Linked DNA regions of Homo sapiens: region 2 is linked to region 1. The links are contacts of gene promoters, found by promoter capture Hi-C in human tissues and cell types (Jung and others, 2019). All regions are on one chromosome and are shown on one strand. The core of a region is centred on a gene start or on the middle of the fragment in contact, and the rest is flanking DNA. Distances in the headings are between cores, read along the strand shown.

Region 1 (7,037 bases), core at 3,143-5,642:
GTGGCAAGAAGGCCCTGCCCTGACAGCCTTCACCAAGCCCAACCCACCTTGGCAGCTATCAAGGGGGAGGTTGTGGAACAGAAACCACAGTCCTGCATCAGTTGGCCTGTTCGCATCTATAAAATGGGCACGGGGTGGAGAGAGTTAATGCCAGATGCCAATGCCAACTGCCAGAATCTAGGAACTGTTAGCCCTCCCTCCTTCAATTACTAAAGAAAAGAAGTTCATTTAGAAAAGACAAAGGAAGGCCAGGCACGGTGGCTCATGCCTGTAATCCCAGCACTTTAGGAGGCCAAGGTGGGCGGATCACCTGAGGTCAGGAGTTCGAGACCAGCCTGGCCAACATGGTGAAACCCCATCTCTACCAAAAATACAAAAATTAGCTGGGCGTGGTGGTGGGTGCCTGTAATCCCAGCTACTCAGGAGGCTGAGGCAGGGAGAATCACTTGAACCCTGGAAGCGGAGGTTGCAGTGAGCTGAGATCACACCATTGCACTCCAGCCTGGGCAACAGAGCAAGACTCCATCTAAAAAAAAAGAAAGAAAGAAAGAAAGAAAGAAAAGACAAAGGAAATGCTCTATTACACTGTGTAAGTGTGTTTAAGGTGTAGCTCCTGGAGACATGGGACAGGCTGAAAACAGCAAGGGGGTTTGGATCATTTCATGATTGAGAAGACCCTCATGGGTTACTAAAGGAAGGCAGTGTGGGCCAGGCACAGAGTCTTATATCTGTAATTCCAGCACTTTGGGAGGCTGAGGTGGGAGGATGACTTGAACCCAGGAGTTCGAGACCAGCTTAAGCAACATAGCGAGACCCTGTCTGTACAGACACACACACAAAAAAAATAGCTGAGCATGGCAACATGTGCCTGTAGTCCCAGCTACTTGGGAGGCTGAGGCAGGAGGTTCACCAGAGCCCAGGTGTTTGAGGCTGCAATGAGCTATGATCGTTGCCACGGTACTCCAGACTGGGTAAGAGTGAGACGCCATCTCAAAAATAAAAAATAAAGGAAAGTAGGAAAGTTTTGAGCACAGAAGCAAACAGGCCCACCAGGCAGAGATGGAAACCTGGATGGATGGGCTCAGGGTGGCGTTTCTGGGCTGTTTGTTAGTGGTGACTGTTTCTGGCTGGTGTTCACGGACTGGGATGAGAGGGCTGGGGAACGCGACAGTCCATTGCAAGGGCTACCCAAGCCTTCAGGGATACAGTGCTATTTTTAAAATGCACTGTTCTCCAAGGCAGCATGGGTCTGTAGCCAGCAACTGCTTTCCTGGCCTTTCAGGCTCAGTCAACCCTCCTGTAGTCTATTTAATTCATGCCATTTCTGAATGGGAGCAATTTTGCAAGCTACAATTTATGCATTAAACTTAACTTTTTAAAAAGAATTTTACGTAAGTGAAATATATATATTTATTGAGATAGGGTCCCACTCTGTCACCCAGGCTGGAGTGCAGTGGAATGCTTTACTCACTGCAGCCTCCACCTCCCAGGCTCAAGCAATCCTCCCACCTCAGCTTCTCTAGTAGCTGGGACTACAGGCCTGCACCACTACAACTGGCTAATTTTTGTATATTTTTGTAGAGACAGGGTCTCCCTATATTGCCCAGGCTGGTCTAGAACTCCTGGGCCCAAGGGATCCTCCTGCCTCAACCTCCCAAAGTGCTGGGATTACAGCTGTGAGCCACCACACCCAGCCTTAAACTTAATTTTTTAAATGCTGCTGAGCAGGTGTGGTGGCTCGTGTCTGTAATCCCAGCACTTTGGGAGGCTGAGGCAGGGGAACACTTGAGGTTAGGAGTTCGAGACCAGCCTGACCAACATGGCGAAACCCCATCATTACTACAAATACAAAAATTAGCCAGGCGTGGTGGTGCACGTCTGTAATCCCAGCTACTTGGGAGGCTGAGGTAGGAGAATCGCTTGAACCCAGGAGGCAGAGGTTGCAGTGAGCCTAGATCACGCCATTGCACTCCAGCCTGGGCGACAGAGTGAGACTCTGTCTCAAAAAACAGTAATAATAAATAAATGCTGCTGGCTGGGCGTGGTGGCTCATGCCTGTAATCCCAGCACTTTGGGAGGCTGAGGCAGGCGGATCACTAGGTCAGGAGTTCGAGACCAGCCCAGCCAACATAGTGAAACCCCGTCTCTACTAAAAATACCAAAAAAAAAAAAAAAAAAAAAAAATCAGCCGGGCGTGGTGGCGGGTGCCTGTAGCTATTTGGGAGGCTGAGGCAGGAGAATTGCTTGAACCCGGGAGGCAGAGGTTGCGATGAGTCAAGATTGCGCCACTGCACTCCAGTCTGGGTGACAGAGTGAGACTCCATTTCAAAAATAAATAAATAAATGCTACTGAGGAAAGCCCCATCTTGGAAAAAAAAAAGTGCCCGTGGGTGTGTCTCATTAGAGGCCACAAATCAAGGTAAATTACATGACTGACCGTGGAAATATCAGAAATGTAAATTTGGAAACTTTTGCCTTTTACCCCCAACCCAAGGCCCCTATATGACAACTCTTCTAGGATGAGGCTGGTGCCTGAGGCCAGACCATCAAAGAGCTCAGGACAGAGGTGAACTGTATGTTTCTCCTCAGATCCAAGTGGAAGTAGCTTCTTCTGTGCACAGCTCTGGCCATTTGTTCTGAGAAGGAGGCCCAGAGCCTGCCCCGGGGGGCACAACATCACGGCCATGGTTGGGTGACCTCTACCCTGCAAACATATGCAGTTTCTTCCTTTGTGGTTAGTAAGGGAGGTGGGGGAAAACACTGAAAGGACAGCCTTGTCATGTGAAAAGAACACATATTCCACTTTAATATACATAAGAAGTAACCTGTGATACATGAGAAAAAGTACCAGTAAGGCTGGGTCGTCTCAGGAGGAGGTTGTCAGAGGCTGACTCTACCCGCACCCCAAGACCCATTAATGGCCGAGCGAGGCCGGCAGAGTTAGGCGTTTTCTCTGCATTGGTGGTTTACAATCTTAACTCATTCTTCTAGCGAATGTTTCCTAATAAACCCAGCGCGTCGGCCTGCCCAGAAATGGCCCCTGGAAGCTTAACTTGCCCTCTCCCAAGCAGGACCACGCTCCCTGCTCCCAACTCCTTAGTCCTGTAGCTTTGGAACTCGGAGCCAGGCCAGCTTGGTCCTTCACTCTCTCTTGGTGAGGTGGTGCCCGAGTCCCCGGGTCCTCCAGGCCGGTGGTTACAGGAGACCTGAGACAAGTACCTGAGTCGGACCCCGACGTGTTCTGTTCCTTGCAGGCCCAAGCAGCGTCCAAGGCGCCTCTCCTTCGGTGGAACCCGGGACAACCCAGGACCTAGCCATCGCCACAGTGTCACAGCCCCTCCTAGCTCTCCAGTCTCTGTCCCTGTCAACGGTCCTGGAATGAGGGGAACAGATGGCGGAAAAGGCTATGCATTTGCGCCACCCGGCTGCCCGCGGTGTCCTTCGCCTTGGTCCGCGACGCTGCCACTCTCCTGCTTGTCTCCACAGCCGTCGCGCCCACTGCGCTCGCGGCCCTCCACGCAGTGGTGCCACTGCTGTTGTTGTTCAGGTTGGTGCACCCGCTGCCGCTCTCCATCTCCCATTCCTCGGCTCCCGACAGCTCCCGCAACCTCCAAGGCGCGTCGGGCCGCAGGTAGTGGCAGGCCCGGTGGCCGCTGTGGTCGCGGCGCGTAGCGTCAGCACCCAGGGCGCCCACCAGCACCTTGATGACCATGTCGTGGCCCTGAAGGGCCGCCAGGTGGAGGGGCGTGAGGCCGCCGCTGCCTGGGGCGCTCACGTCGAGCCTCAGCCCCCGGCGTAGGGCGAAATCGTGTACCAGAATGAGCTCCTCGTGGCGCCCGTGCTTGGCCAGCCAGTGCAGAACCGAGTAGCCGGTGATCGGGTCGCCCCGCAGCAGCAGCTCCGGCTCAGCCTCCAGCAGCTCCCGCAGCACCTCATAGCGGCCCTCGGCGGCTGCCAGAATCCACGCGTGCTCCCGCGGTTCCAGGCACAGCCTGCTGCTGCCCGGCCCACTCGGCCCGCCCAGCTCCTCGGCGCGCTCCTCCGACAGCCACCCCGCAGGAGCCGCCCGCTGCAGCCCCAGCAGTTCCCGCAGCGCTCCCCGCCGGCGCCCTGAGCCCGCTGCAGAGTGCATCAGCGTGCCTGGGAAGGGGTGCTCCCGGGAGGCGGCGGCTGCGGCTTTGCCCCAGTACCTGCCCAGGCTACCAGTGTCCGCTCTCGAGGGGCGGGGCTGCGGGGCGCACCGCAGGCTCTGCGAGGTCGGCGCGAGAGAGGCCGTGGGTGCCCGGTTCGCGGCCCCTCCGAGCTGGGCCATGGTCTTGAAGCTGCCGCCGCGGCCGTCCCAGTGTCCAGCGTTAGCTGCCCTTCCCGGGCCCCAACGGGAGAGGAACTGGCGCTGGCGTTGGGGAAGGAAGCTGCTTGAGCAATTGGGTTCGGAGGGAGGGAGCAAAGGAGAGGAGGAGGAGGAGGAGGAGGAGGAGGGAGGGAGCTAGGGGAGGGCCCCCGCGCAGGCCTTGGGGGGCGTGGAGGGGTGTGAGCTCCAGCCAAGTCCCCAGGGCAAGCCCAGCTCCACTTCCCTGGGTACCGCCGCCTCTGCAGCTCCCCCGGGTCGCGGGCGGTCCCACCCCAAACGGCCAGGTGAGCTCGGCAGCCCCGCCTCCAGCACCGAAGGGCGGGCGCGGGGACTGGCTGGGAGCTCGCCTGCGGCCCTGGAAGCCGCGGTTCTCAGCATCCCAGCCGGGGCTAGAGTGTAGAGGCGCGAGGGCGCCCCTTCCGCAGCGGGCCGAGCTCGGCTTCCAGCCACGGTCTCCCAAAGCGCGGTCCTGGAGCTCCGAGGCTCTGGCTCCCCGCCCCCTTCCTTCGCCCTTCCCTCTTATCTCTTCAGGAGTCTCCCTGCACTTTGTCCCGGAGTTGCCATTGTCCCGCGCCTAGCATTCACGCAGGCAGCTCGACTGCCCCATGTGACTGGCTCGTCTGCCTGCCTTGCCCTTTGTGTGGCCTTGACCCTCGCCGCAGCACCCGGGGCTGCCCAGGATTCCAGCAGAGAAGCCCAAGACCAGGGTCCAGGCTGACGCTCTTCCAGGGAACTCAGGAGGGATATTCCCCTTCTGCACCGCCCTCTCTGTCCTGCTCTCCACCCTCTTCCCTCCCGTCAATTTTCCCAGGTTGGCTTGGAGAAGCAGCTACAGGTGAATCTGAGCCGGCGCCGCAGGAGCGCCCTGTTCTCTTTAGAGATGCATCCCTGCTCTCTCCCCAGGGCCCCGCTTTCTACAAATTCAAAGCTTAGGGGCTTTTTAAAAAAGGATATTTTTTCTTTTTCACTCCTAATACCAGCGTACTCTTTGCTCTTCCCTTCCCTTAGTAAATAGTGGTTCTTGCCTCCACACCCCCAGCATCTTAAGGAGCTCAGTCAGTGAGCAACGGGGAGCCATAGAAGATTGTTGAGCCGGGGAGAGACACAGCCATGATGGAGGTTGTGTTAAAAAGGTGATTTGGGAGGTGCAGAGGCAGGAAGTCGGAAGACTGTTCCAGCAGTCTAGGCCAAGGGGGATGGAGGCTCAGGCCAAATCAGCCCACTCCCTCGGGGCCACCTGTGGCAGCAGTGATAGAAGGTATCGGAAGCTTTTCTTCCTTGGCCCTCACGTATTTGGAACAAGTCCTAAATATCTAGAGCTTTCCTTCAGAACAGTTTATGCATTTGTAATTTGGTTTTGAACATTTACTATGTGCCAGGCACTGTGCTTGTTGCGTTATATATGTTAACTCTTTTAATCCTCCCAGTGACCTCAAGTGCTGGGAATCATTACTGTCCCCAGTTTGCAGAGAGGTTAGGCTACTTGCTCAAGGTCACCCAGCAGGAAGTGGCAGAGCAGGTCTGTGCGACACCATAGCCTTTGTTCTGGTACACAGGAACTGGCATTCAAGCCTGGCTTATCAACTGCAAATCACATACAAGCCCCAAATTCCAGCCAAAAGGATAGACTTGTAACGTGAGCGTATCTATAACTTACACTCCTCTGCCTGGAAGAGCTTCTATGTAGTGAAGTTCTTTTCTTTCAAGGTTGCGCTTAGTTTCCACCTCTAGCAAGCCTCCTCTGATTATCCCAGCCCAAAGTGATCCCTCTCTTTCCCCAGCCCTGTGTTTCTGCTACTTCTTTGGCCCCAAGACTGCCTTGTGTTACATCTCTCTCCCCTTGCTCTCATATGCCAATTAAACTATAAACTCTTGGACAGCTATGTCATACTATCCTTGTGCACCTAGTAGTTATCCAAGAAATATTTGTTACCTTGTTCTGGTTTGGCAGGCTGGGAAAATGTGATTGTGTGTGTGTATGTTGGGGGCGGGGGACATGTATCCACAATCAGCACCTCAATGCCTGCTCCCACATCCCTGCTCCAGACTCCAATCTGCAGGACATCAAAAGCAACTCATAGATTTGGTCAATTCATTTTTCTTTAAAAGAGATTCAGTGGTTTATTCACTGAGTTGACTGGCCAAAGCCACCTCCTGGCCTTCGCTGACTTCTCAGAGACCAGGCCTAGGCCCAGAATGGGCCCCAAGCTTTCAGGCTTTCATTTTCAAAATGAATCCTGACTGACAAGCAGCTACTTCCGTTGCTCTGGAGACTCCTCTCCGCAACCCCAGATCTGTAAACACCAAACCGCACACAGGCACACACACTTCCAGAATATGCAAACAGCTGCAGCAATATTTTTTTTTAAGTCAAAATGCCAGCATGGAAAATGCAGGATGGAAGAATGCTTGGACTATTAATTTTCGTCACCACTAAGCAGGCAACTCTCTTCCCTATCAGCATGAATAATATCTGTTTCCAGTTCAAAGATTGCAAAGGCAGCCGCCTGACCAGTGCCACAGACCCATGATACATGTGCCCTTGCTTAACTCTGCTGCTAGAGACCAAAGCCACGGTGCCTCCCTAGCAACTTGTTTCATCTTTAATTAGCAAGTGCTTTCTACCCTAGGTCACCAGCTGCACACACCACTCCCCAGAACCGCAACACCCATCTCTATTTTAGTA
Region 2 (6,845 bases), core at 2,169-4,668, 100 kb after region 1:
TCCGCCTCCTGGGTTCAAGTGATTCTCCTGCCTCAGCCTCCCGAGAGTAGGTGGAATTAGTCACGCACCACCACACCCTGCTAATTTTTCTGTATTTTTAGTAGAGATGGGGTTTCACCATGTTGACCAGGCTGGTCTCGAACTCCTGACCTCAAGTGATCCCCCCCGCTCACCCCCGCCTTGGCTTCCTAAATTGCTGGGATTACAGGCATGAGCCACTGTGCCTGGCCACCTCTGCTTTTTATAGGCATGCTTATTGTGCTAATCTTGTTTGGTTGAGAATAAATTAAACTTTGGAGAAAGGATATTTGGGCCACAATATGAGTGCTTAATCTCAGCTGCAGATTGCTCAGAAACTTCAATTACATTTCTTACAGTTCTTTCAGTTACATACATTCAACATATCTAACATTGGACAATGCCTTGATAATAATGGCTTGGGAGGACTGAACAGATACTGCGCCTCAGAGGCAAATCTACTTCCGTTATAGTTTTAAGATATCCCTATTGTTTCTTCCCGATTATAAATGTGATACATACTTATAATAAATCAAATAAGTAGAAATGAAAAGCCTCCTTGAAATTGCACTGAGGAGCAGGGGTGGAGTAAGCTCCAGGGATCTGTAATAAAAAGCAGTGTTTTCTTCATGCTGTTAGGGCCATGTTAGCATAGATATGTCAGTGAAGCATCATTGAAACAAGGCATTAGAATATCCCGCTTTACAAGGGCTCATGCATAAACTAGGAAGAGGAATGACTAAGGCCGGATACTGCGGAAAGCTACCATTTAAAGGATGCTGGAGGCAGGGCACAGTGGCTGAAGCCTGTAATTCCAGCACTTTGGAAGGCCAAGGTGGGTGGATCACTTGAGGCCAGGAGTTCAAGACCAGCCTGGCCAACATGGTGAAACCCCCGTCTCTACTAAAAATACAAAAAATTAGCTGGGCATGGTGGTATGTGCCTGTAATCCCAGCTACTCGGGAGGCTGAGGCACAAGAATTGCTTGAACCCGGAAGGTGGCGGTTGCAGTGAGCTGAGATCGCGCCATGGCACTCCAGCCTAGACAACAGAGTGAGACTCCATCTCAAAAAATAAAAATAAAAAAGGATGCTGGAGAAAAGGGGATTTAAGGGAGAGACTGAGAAGGACAAGCTGGAGAGGGGAGTGCTTAGGAACCTAGGCTTTGGTCTCAGACCTGGGTTCAAATTTCATCTTGCTGTCTTTTTAGCCCAGGGATCTTGAACAAGGTACTTAAATTTTCTATGCCTCAGTTTTCTCATCTGTAAAATGGGGATGATAATGATGGATGATAATAATAATACTACCTACCTTAGAGAGTTGTGGTGAAGCACATTTGACATGTGTGGAATATGAAATGCTTAAACACCTGGCACAGAGTAACTGCCTCATAAACTGAAGATATTATGATCATGATTTTTATTGATAGAAGAATCAAGGAACAGCTAAATCATGTAGTATATGGGAAGGAATGATACATGGTATCCAGGAAGACGAGAACTGCAAAATATTCTTTGGGTTTGGTGATATGAAGGTCAGTAATACATTTCAGAATAATAATTCGAGGGGAACTGTGGGTGGAAGCCAGATTACCGTGATTGCTGAGTGAATGGAAAGTAAGCATGTAAAGGCATCAGAAGAGCAAAAAGAGCAATGGAACAGAAAAGTCAGTCTAAGACCAGATTCCTGCTCATATGGAAATTTAGCATATGTAAGTCAGCAGGGGAAGAATGGACTATTCAGGAGATGATGCTGGGAAAATAGGCCATCTATTTAGGAAAAAAATAAAACGAGACCCTCTCACACAAACACCATTCACAAAAATAGATTCCCATTGGACTAAAAACAGATTTCTAAAAATATAAGGAGAAAACATCAGAGAATATTTTTATAACTTTGGGGGTAGAGAAGGCTTTTCCAATCATGACACAAAATTCAAAAGTCATAGAAGAAAAGACTGATGGATTTAAATTCATTAAAATAAAAAACCCTTTTGTATTGAAAGATACCATAAACAAAAGTACAAACAAGCTACAGATGGGGAGAAGATATTTGCTGCCTAAATAACAGACAAAGGATTCTTCTAAAATGGAAAAAGAGCTTCTACAATTCAATGAGAAATAAACAAATAATTTACAGAAGGGGAAATACTTATGTACAATCAACATATGAAATGATGGTCATTCAACTTCCCCAGTAATTAAAGAAATGCAAAATGAAACAAATATTTTTTATCCATCAGATCTGCAAAAACAAAAGGATGGTATAATATCCACTAACACGAGGTAATTTCATTCACGTTGATGGGACTGTAAATTGATATAGACTTCTTGGAGGGCAAATTTGGCAGTATCTATTAAAATTTTAAATGTGAATAATTTATGACCCAGCAGTTCCACCTTTTAAGTATACAGCCTAGAGAAACAGTTGCACATGCTCCTGAGAAGCATAGAGAAAGCATGTTCACTGTAGCTTTGGTTATTGAATGAAAAACAATTTAAACAGTCTAAATTTCTACCAACAGAGCAATTAAATAAACTGTGGAATTACCATACCATGGAATTGTGTTTGGCAGTTTAATAGAATGAGGTAGATCGATATATACTCACATGGCTAGATCTCAGGATATGTTGTTAAGTGAAAAAAAGAAGTTGCAGAATGATCACGATGCGGTGTCTGTAAATCTGCCCCCCTCCCTCCAATAAAACCACAAATATTTCTCTCTATTTATGTGCGTAGATGCATAGAAAAAGGTCTGGAAAGATAATCAGCAAACTGAAAATAGAGGTTATCTGTGAGGAAGGAAGAATCGGTATTCTTTTTTATTTTTTTGAGACGGACTTTCGCACTGTTGCCCAGACGGGAGTGCAGTGGCGCTATCTCGGCTTACTGCAAGCTCCGCCTCCCGGGTTCACGCCATTCTCCTGCCTCAGCCGCCCGAGTAGCTGGGACTACAGGCGCCCACCACCACGCCCGGCTAATTTTTTTTGTATTTTTAGTAGAGACGGGGTTTCACCGTGTTAGCCAGGATGGTCTTGATTTCCTGACCTCATGATCCGCCTGCCTCGGCCTCCCAAAGTGCTGGGATTACAGGCGTGAGCCACCGCACCCGGTCGAGAATAGGTGTTCTTGCATAAATAAATTTAGGTTAAGCGCGGTGGCTCTTACCTCTAATCCCAACACTTTGTGGGGCCAAGGTAGAAGGATCACTTGAGCCCAAAAGTTCAGGACCAGCCTGGATAACATAAAGAGACCCCGTCTCTACACAAAAATAAAAAATTAGCCAGGTGTGGTGGTGTGTGCCTGTAGTCCCAGATACTCAGAAGGCTGAGGCAGGAGAATCGCTTGAGCTCATGAGTTCGAGGTCACAGTGAGCTATGATCATGCCATTGTTCTCCAGCATGGGCAATAGAGCGAGGCCTCGTCTCTAAAAAATAGATAAAAAAGAAAGCTTGTCTGAGCTGGGAGAAATACACAAGGCCATGTCTAGAGGGGGACAAGGAGGTCAGGGGCAACTCTTGAGGATGGGAGAGATGATGAGGGCTTGAACAGGAAGAGAAGCTTTGAGGATAGAGAGGAGGGGCAGATTTGAGAGAATTGACAAGACTGAGAACCAAGTTGCCGTGGAAACCTAGTCCACTTTATAAACTTAAATGTCTACTATGTGACAAGTACAGTGTGAAGTGTCAGAGATACTAAGAAATAAGGCACAGTTTTTTTGTTTTGTTTTTTTTTTTTTTGAGACGGAATCTCACTCCGTTGCCCAGGCTGGAGTGCAGTGGTGCGATCTCGGCTCACTGCAACCTCCGCCTCCCAGGTTCAAGCAATTCTCCTGCCTCAGCCTCCCGAGTAGCTGGGACTACAGGTGCCTACCACCATGCCTGGCTAATTTTTGTATTTTTAGTAGAGACGGGGTTTCACTGTGTTGGCAGGGCTGGTCTCGAACTCCTGACCTCAGGTAATCCGCCTGCCTCGGCCTCCCAAAGTGCTGAGATTATGGGTGTGAGCCACCCCACCTGGCCTCCACATTTTCACATTTTCTTTATTTTATTTTATTTATTTAATTATTTTTTGAGACGGAGTCTCACTCTGTCGCCCAGGCTGGAGTGCAGTGCCTCAATCTTGGCTCACCGCAACCTCCGCCTCCTCGGTTCAAGCAATTCTCCTGCCTCAGCCTTCTGAGTAGCTGGGATTACAGGCGCACGCCACCATGCCCAGCTAATTATTATATTTTTAGTAGAGACGGGGTTTCACCCTGTTGATCAGGCTGGTCTCGAACTCCTGACCTCGTGATCCGCCCACCTTGGTCTCCCAAAGTGCTGGGATTACAGGCGTGAGCCACTGCGCCTGGCCTCCACATTTTCTTTATCCGGTCATCAGTTGATGGACATTTGGGTTGTTTCCACCTTTGGGCTACTGTGAATAATTTACTCAAGCTGGGTTCACCAAGTCCCACCTCCCTGGCCGTCTTCCCATTGCTCAAACCTGTCAGACTGGTTTCTGCCTCAGAACCATCCTCACATTTATTATTCCCACTGCCTGGAATGCTCTTCACCCAGATCTCTCCATGGCTCTGTCATCCTCATCCTTGCGGCTCAAATGTCACACCCTTAGAGAAGCCTTCCCTGATCACTGTATTTAAAGTAGTTGAACCCTCAATCACATGTATATCCCATTATCCTATTGGAGTATCTTCATAGTACATATCATTATCCGAAATGAATAAGTATTATTGTCTAGACCAGGGGTTATTTTGTGCCATTGGCCCCGTTAGCAATCTAGTGAGGCCTATGGGCTCATTCTCAAAATAATGTTTTTAAATGCCTAAAATATACCAAGTATACTAAAAATACAGTTACTAAAATATTTAAAAATTGTGACTTAGCAATCCATGTGCTTCTCTATCAATTCCAGAAGTAATAATATCTATATGCAGGCTTAATAATTACCAGAATTTGAATGTTGTAATGAGTATAAATGCTATTTTGAGCTATTTACAACAACTGGAATGGGAAATGATGATATCAGTGATTTCTATTGGTTATGAAATCACAGGTACTGCTAACATTACTATAGATTGTTACCTATGTCTGCAGCTGAAGAAACTGCTAAACTTCAGTTAGAGATTAGTGAAAAAGATGTATTTTTTTCCTATCTAAGTTCACAGATCCTCTGAATTCTATTCACAGAACCTAGGAGGTCCATGAACCCTGTGTTAAGAACGGCTGTCTTGAAATGTCAAAGATTATCAGTAGTGATGGGGAGGGATGGAGTCTGTTGGAGCTGGTTTTGGTCGAAAATGGAGGAGATGAGGAGATCACAGTGAGCGAGGGAATCAAGAGCTAGAAGAAAGCTGCCCTCTCTGCCCTTCCATGGGACTTGGGTGTGGAGATGAAGAAATTTCCAGTTGAGAAGGATATGAGAAAAGCAGCATCTCTGAAGGATAGTCAGGTGTCACTTAGAGGAAGGAAGCAGTTTGGGAGGAGGTAGCCTATAAGAGTAAAGGATTTTGTTTACCACCCACTGGAGTCCAGTGAGCAGCACAACAGAGTGTGGGAGAGAGGTGGCCACCGTGGGAAGATGAGTCACTGGGGCCTGGGGGTGGAGGGAATGCAGAGCAGTAGCGGAAACTTTACTATGTTCCAGACAGCAGGCTAGACGTGGAGGATACAGAGATGAATAAGACGAAGATAAGCCACCCATTTAGGATTCGTCTACACCAAATCCTGGTGGCTGATTGGCTGGTTTGGCTGGTCTGATCCATGTACATCTTGAGAGCTTCCGAGAGCCAGAGGCAATTGCAGTAAGACAGGCACAGGGTATCACTACAGATTTCGGGGTGTGTGGGGGAGCTAAAAAATGCACTTTTTAGCTTTATTTTCTTTCCTCTGATTCCTTCTGCAAAGCAAAAAATGAAGTAAAAAAAAATTACGTAATTGAGAAAAAAAATGAAGCAGTGCCATCATCAACTATTTCAAATCAGCAAAACATCCAAAAATTAATTAAATAAGCCTAGGGGATACATTCCCCACCCTCACTCCAAATTCGTCAGGAACCTTCTAAGGATCTTTGCAACCAAGAGATTCTTTGATGCGATTACCCTTCGGAACAGTGGCTCGGAGGGATCAAAGGAATAAAGAAAGGACTATGTTTTTAGAGTTTTCTCTGGGGCTTGGGAGGCAGAGGTTGCAGTGAGTGGAGATCGCACCACTGCACTCCTGCCCGGGCAACAGAGCGAAACTCCATCTTAAAAAAAAAGATTTTTCTCTGGGGCTCCAGAGATAGCCTGCACCTGGATCTCAGCTCTGGCTGCAGCTCTCAGAATCTAGGATCCTGTGATTCTTTCTTAAAAGGCTATTTTCCCCTTCTCTACTAGGGGGATCTTTCAGAAAGGCTCAGCCTGGGAGCTGCTGCAGGTGGGAGGCATTGGCTGGGCTCAGCTCCTCCTTTGATCATCATGTTCCCTTCTGGCAGCGGTATCTGAAAACTCCCTGCCCTGGGCCCACATGACAAGCCTCTTCTAGCCTGAAGGGAGGCACCCCCTCAGCCAGAGAGGCAGCAGACAGACAGGGGAGATGAGAACAAGAGGCAGAGCTGAGCTAAGCTGACCTAGTTAGAGCAGAAAGAGGCCGTAGGGGTGACGGGGATGACGTGGGAGGGGACTGGGACAGAGGGAGAGGGAAGTTTCCCAGGGAGGCCCAGGAAAGAGAGACATAGAGGGCTGACTGTTGTTTAAGAAGCCTTGGCAAGACTTGGGGGCCACCTAGAGGAGCCGCGTGTGGAGACTCAGTGAGCTGGCGGGCCTGTGTCCATGTGTGCAGGGTGTG

The links. The method cuts DNA at HindIII sites, captures the fragments that hold promoters and counts their contacts. A contact is called where the count stands out against the background at its distance.
Region 2: a contact is called between a fragment that was not itself captured here and the fragment with the promoter of SOWAHD in region 1, in 3 of the 25 tissues and cell types used here (lymphoblastoid cells, mesenchymal stem cells and pancreas).

Annotation. Positions count from the first base shown.
Region 1 is chrX:119,755,943-119,762,979 of GRCh38, reverse strand. It overlaps SOWAHD (sosondowah ankyrin repeat domain family member D), which reads right to left and starts at 4,392. Exons shown (of 1, transcript NM_001105576.3): 1 at 2,778-4,392. The coding sequence starts at 4,312. The coding sequence ends at 3,365. RefSeq lists enhancers at 2,382-2,451, 2,462-2,531, 6,599-6,798, 6,809-6,868 and silencers at 4,083-4,382, 4,493-4,642. The HindIII fragment of the contact is 4,543 bases long and covers 907-5,449 here.
Region 2 is chrX:119,654,132-119,660,976 of GRCh38, reverse strand. All of the region lies in intron 3 of SEPTIN6 (septin 6), which reads left to right. Among named protein-coding and RNA genes, the nearest start is that of MIR766, 11 kb to the right of the region's middle. RefSeq lists an enhancer at 5,447-5,496. The HindIII fragment of the contact is 5,028 bases long and covers 905-5,932 here.